Linked DNA regions of Homo sapiens: region 1 is linked to region 2. Evidence: promoter capture Hi-C in 16 types of primary human blood cells and fetal thymus (Javierre and others, 2016). All regions are on one chromosome and are shown on one strand. The core of a region is centred on a gene start or on the middle of the fragment in contact, and the rest is flanking DNA. Distances in the headings are between cores, read along the strand shown. Region 1 has its middle 23 kb from the start of SERINC3. Region 2 holds the start of STK4 (serine/threonine kinase 4).

What was found. Contacts are between HindIII fragments. The CHiCAGO score rates a contact against its expected background, and 5 or more counts as called.
Region 1: a contact is called between a fragment that was not itself captured here and the fragment with the promoter of STK4 in region 2, in 1 of 17 cell types (erythroblasts). The highest score is 5.1, in erythroblasts.

Annotation. Positions count from the first base shown.
Region 1 is chr20:44,543,942-44,546,967 of GRCh38, forward strand. It overlaps a transcript of PKIG not described here. Among named protein-coding and RNA genes, the nearest start is that of SERINC3, 23 kb to the left of the region's middle. The HindIII fragment of the contact is 4,199 bases long and covers 1-3,026 here.
Region 2 is chr20:44,965,094-44,967,896 of GRCh38, forward strand. It overlaps STK4 (serine/threonine kinase 4), which reads left to right and starts at 1,419. Exons shown (of 11, transcript NM_006282.5): 1 at 1,419-1,510. The coding sequence starts at 1,476. It overlaps STK4-DT (STK4 divergent transcript), which reads right to left and starts at 1,365. Exons shown (of 3, transcript NR_038341.1): 1 at 1,024-1,365; 2 at 469-592; 3 at 1-355. RefSeq lists a silencer at 1,244-1,493 and an enhancer at 2,634-2,713. The HindIII fragment of the contact is 5,160 bases long and covers 1-1,982 here.

The DNA of each region.
Region 1 (3,026 bases), core at 48-2,547, 420 kb before region 2:
TAGTCCCAGCTACTCGGGAGGCTGAGGCAGGAGAATCGCTTGAACCTGGGAGGTGGAGGTTGCAGTGAGCTGAGGTCACACCACTGCACTCCGACCTGGGCAACAAGAGCAAAACTCCGCCTCAAAAAAAAAAAAAAAAAAGATTGTTCCTTAGAGTGAGAATTTTTCTCAGAAGCCTCCAGAGAACTACCCTAGAATCTCATTGGCCTGGACTGGGTCATATGCTCATTCCTGAGCCAATTTTTGTTAGTAGGGCAATGTGATGCCCTGATGGGCTTAGGCCTGGTTCTTGAACAAGCCATTTACAAGAGGGATGAAATTATCTCTAGACCATTCAGAAACAGAATTGTGTTTCTGTTAGGAAAATTTTTTTTTTTCTATGAGTAGGTGAATGGACGCTGAGTAGATTGGTCGAAGAGGAATTGTGTTGGCTGCTGATAACAGTGCTTTAAAGAAGACAGGTTATTTTTCTCTCAAAAAATATTAAGTCCAAAGTAGATAGTCTGTTCCTGGCATGGCAGTTCCACAGTGCCATCAGGCAGCCTAGATCTTTCTCTCTTTCTGTTTCACCATGCTTATCACACAGCTTGCAGTCACCAAGTGGTCGCACGTGTTGGCTCTGGCTCTCTAGCCAAACGGTCTTTGAGGCAGGAAGAAGTAGGAAAGGGGAGGGCAGAGGACACCCTTTAAAGTACCCTAAGTCCCAACCACCATGTTCAGTTTACATCTCATTGTCCATTCTTACTTGTGAAGAAGGCTGGTAAATGCAGTTTCTTAGCTGTACACATTGCCATTCCCCAAAACAGGGATTCTGCAGCTGTGGAAGAATGAGAAATAGATACAAGCCTGGAAGTGGGCAGTGCCCACCACAGGAGGCGGCCAACAATGTCAGCTATACCCTGTATTTGGAGAAAATTGCAGTTTTTACATTGACTTTCCTCTTTCTTTTCTTTTCTTTTCTTTCTTTCTTTCCTTCCTTCTTTCTTTTTTTTTTTTTTTTTTTTTTTTTTTTGAGATGGAATCTTGCTCTGTGGCCTGAGCTGGAGTACGGTGGCACAATCTTGGTTCACTACAACCTCCACCTCCTGGGTTCAAGCAATTCCCCTGCCTCAGCTTCTGGAGTAGCTAGGATTACAGGCGTGCCCCACCATGCCCAGCTAATTTTTGTATTTTTAGTAGAGACAGGGTTTTGCCATGTTGGCCAGGCCAGTCTCGAACTCCTGACCTCAGGTGATCCACCCACCTTGGCCTCCCAAAGTGCTGGGGTTACAGGTGTGAGCCACTGCGCCTGCAATGCCCGGCCTGCATTATAAATATTTGTTCATAATGTGTTGCTAACAGTGACAATCAATAAGAATCAACTGGGTTTGTTCCCCAGCCTGTTTAGTTTTATTATTGTGATTACAAAATAATTAAATATTATGTTAACCAATGAAATGTAAAGGGAAAAAGGAAAAAAGATACTGCTTTTATGAAAAATAAGTTGAATGTGCTTACCTGATAAAGGCAAATGGCTAAGAAAAAATATTTTTGTCAAATTAGGGGTGGAAGAGACCTCTGAAAAGATTGAAGAAAAAAATTATAAAAATATGGAGATTCTGACAGATAGGGTAACTCTCACCTGTAATCCTAGCACTGGGAGGCTGAGGCAGGAAGATTACTTGAGGCCAGGAGTTTGAGACCAATCTGGGCAACAGTGAGACCCCGTCTCTACAAAAAGAAAATTAGCCAGATGTGGTGGTGTGTCCCTGTAGTCCTAGCTACTTGGGAGGCTGAAGTGGGAGGATCACTTAAGCCCAGGAGTTTGAAGTTACAGTGAACTATCATCACGCCACTGTACTTACTCCAGCCTGGGACACAGAGTAAGACCCTGTCTCCAAAACATATATATACATATATGTTTCTGCCTTCAGAACACTTCACAAGTATCATTCCAGTAAAAACTGAAAATCATAGATGTACATCATGAGTGTAGTTCATGCAGAAACTTTAATTGCTTGAACTTACTCTCAAGAAAAGGCCTTCACTGGGCACAGTGGCTCATGTCTATAATCCCAGCACTTTGGGAGGCTGAGGCAGGTGGATTACTTGAGTCCAGGAGTTCGAGACACAAGCCTGGGAAATACAGCAAAACCCTGTCTCTACAAAAAATACAAAAATTAGCAGGTTGTGGTGGTGCATGCCTGTACTCCCAACTACTCGGAGGCTGAGGTGGGAGAATCACCTGAGCCCAGGGAGGTTGAGGCTGCAGTGAGCCATGATCATGCCATTGCAGTCCAGCATGGGTGACAGGGAGAGACCCTGTCTCAGAGAAGAGAAGGAGAGGAGAGAGGAGAGGAGAGGCTTTCATCCCTTAGCCAGTATTTGGAAAATAAACATGCATTTTTAATGATTCCTCTCTTTAACTGTATTTTTTAAAAAATGAGTTATACCATTATTAGTTCTGATTCCATCAAGGAGAGAACTTCTACTTTGTTTCTTAAGTTGTTATGTATGGGTTACTGTGTATCAATTGAAATGAATATCACCAGGCCTTATTGTTGGTCATTATAAATTGTGCCCTGGTGAACTTCTTTCCAGAGACATCTTCTCTAGTATATTTTTTGTTTTTTTGAGTTCTTTTTTTTTTGAGACAGAGTCTTACTTTGTTGCTTATGCTGGAGTGCAATGGTACAATCTTGGATCACTGTAGCCTCTACCTTCCCAGTTCAGGCGATTCTCCTGCCTCAGCCCCCCGGGTAGCTGGGACTACAGGCATGCACCACCACTCCCGGCTAATTTTTGTATTTTTAGTAGAAACGGGGTTTCACCATGTTGACCAGGTTGGTCTCGAGCTCCTGACCTCAGGTAATTCCACCCGTCTCAGCGTCCCAAAGTGCTGGGATTACAGATATGAGCCACTGCACCCAGGCCCCTCACTGATTTTAAATAATGTGAAGTTTGGAATGTCTCAGGGAGTTCAATGTAATGGAATTTGTCCTGATGTTATTTCTTTTTCCAAATCACATAGCACTTCAAACTTTTCT
Region 2 (2,803 bases), core at 169-2,668:
CCCAGGAGTTTGAGACCAGCCTGGGTAATAATAGGGAGATCCTGTTTCTACAAAACACCAAAAACAAAACAACAACTTTGATGTTGTGGAGTCAGGACAGTCCTGGGTTAAAACCTTTGCTCTCCTTAGCTGTGTAAACCGTGGGTCTCAGCTTTCTTATCTGTTAACGGTAGGTACTTCTTCCTAGGGCTGTTTTGAGGATTAAGTGAAAGTCCAAGATTGTGTCTGGCACACAGTAGCTTCTCAGCAAATGTTTTCCTCCTATGTCAGGGAATGGCTCCTTTATCCCGTTTTGGGCCCATGGGTGGCCCTGAAGGGTGGGTGCTCAGGTGTTAAGTTCTGTAGATGGCATATCCTTGGGAAAAGCAAGGCAATTAAAAACAGTGAGAGGTTGCTCTGGTTAAGTTTTCTCCTATAACTTTCCCCATGGGTCAATTGGGTAGAATCTGCCATTTTCCTAATACTTACTGATGGTAGTGGCATTCGGAAGCACAATAGCTGAAGCCGGAGCTCTGAGTGGAGAGAAAGGTCTGTTTCTCAGGCCCAAAAAGAGGTTACACACCCATGGCTGTCCAGTTTGGTGGTGCAGGCCCTGAAATCAGACCAAACTGGATTTAAATCCCCAAACCTATACTCTAAGCTATGTGACCTTGGGCTAGATACTTCACCTCTCTGGCCTTATGAAGTAGGAATAATAATAATACCGTCTAGGTTGTTAGGAGTATTAAATGAGGTAAAGCACTGAAAACGTTTAGGGACTGTGTTAAATCATTAAATAAATAAAAACGGGGATGACCTTATCGGCTTGACACAGGGGATTAAATGAGATAATATATGAAGACAAGTACACGGCAAATGCTTAATTAATGTTGCTTATTTTTATGTCTGCAAACTGACTTAAAGGGGAGGCCTTTAAGAAAGACAGTGGGGCAATTTGCGCGTTGATGCATTGTAGGAGAAAATGTGCAGGGGGCCCGTTGGGACCAGAGTTCAACCAGGTAAGCGGCAGAAAACCACAAATACCTCCAGGCGTTCCTGGGGCAGCGCCGCCTCCCCAAAATCACGCAAAACTTGGTTTGCTAAGAATTGTCAGCTCTTCTAAAGGAGGCGCTTCACGCATCTCAGTCTGTGAAATGGGACCCAGGACCCAGGTAGAGGTGCGTTCTCGGCCTGGGGACCGAGTATTTTGTGCGCTCCGGTAACGCAGGAAGACAGCGCCACTGACACTCTAGAGACCAGCGGGCACCGCCTGGAGGCGCCTTCACCACTTGGCGGTTCCGGGTCCGCGCCCCACCGCGCCACAAGACTCACGCCCGAACCACGTGATCAGGGCCGTGGCTCCGCCCCGCTCCCGCGCCGCGCGCCGCTTCCGGTAGGGGCGGAAAGCGGAAGTGTGGGAGGGTCTGCGGGGCGGGCTCAGGAGGTCCGCGGGAGGATGGAGCAGTGAGCGGGTCTGGGCGGCTGCTGGCAGCGCCATGGAGACGGTACAGCTGAGGAACCCGCCGCGCCGGTGAGGGGCCACTGGCTAAGAGGACGGGCATGGGGTCAGGGGAAGAAAAGGCGGGAACTGGTTGAGGGGATACACCTGTGTGGGAGTCCCCGGAGCTAAGCGACCCAGCCGATGGGGCACCTGCTGAGTGAGGGGGGGGACGTCTGGTGGGTGAGGGTCCGGCTGAGGGGAGCATCTGCTAAGGAGGTTAGACTTGGGACCGGTTAGAGGGAGCACTCGCTGTGGTGAGACTGTGCTGAGGAACGTGGGGACAAGTTAGGGAGAGTACCTGCTGAGGCCGGGCCACTCGGGGGAACGCTATCCAAGCAGGGACTCACGGAGGTGGGGGCGAATGCTGAAGCAGGGTGAGAATCTGTGAGGGATCTCTTTAAGGGGGTGGATCGAGAACTGGCCAAGAGGAAGGCCGGGTGGACTTTCTAAGGGTCTGAAGTCCCACTTGAGGGGTGCGGTGGGGGGATCTGTGGAGGGGAAAAGCTTTGCGCCTAAGGCTGAAAGCATGCGAGGAAAGGTTGAGGGTCTAGCAAGGGAGGGGATGGTGGAGGGTAGCATTTCAGAGGATGCTGTTGGTGGTGTCCCCACTGTAGGATGGCATCTTTTATTACTGATGTTCAGTGTCTTCCTAATGGTCTTCACATCCTCCTCAGCTCTTCAGAACCTGACATTGGGAGGTAGGTAAGGAAATAAGAGGATATTTTCGAGATGGGGAGACTGAGGTCCAGAGTAGTTGGGAAGTGTTTCCTTCTTTACTCCGGGTCACTGAACCCTGCCAGTCTGTGCCCTTTTCAGGCCTCAGTTGTTTTGTGAATATCAGCACCAAATCCTAGTGGTACCTGGAATTGCTTTAGTTCAAGATCAGGATGGTGGCTGATCCTAGAAAATCTCAACTCCTGGATTTCCCTTGTGGACATCCCGGGTCTTTTGCCACTCTACCACATCTGGAGAAAAGTAGGGACTAGAGACCGAAGGAGTCATGCTTCTCTGAGGTTCAGTGTGGTTACTTCTATTTCACAGAGACGTCTGACTTCCTGCAGCAGAATGAGCTCTAAAGAAGGAAGTGTTCAGGGTGTGGAAGTGCAGGGCAACCAAGAGGTGAAGAGAAGGGATTGACTGCCTGGGCAGCACTCTTAGGGGTTGTTTGAGCTTGGGGATGTTTGAGGTGCACAAACATTGCAGAAGGCAAATAGGTGGTTGGGATGGGCTTTGGATTCACCCTAGCGTAGTGTGCTGAGACTGTAATAGTAATGATTATTACACTCATATTGCACTTACCGGGTGCCAGGCACTGTTCTAAGT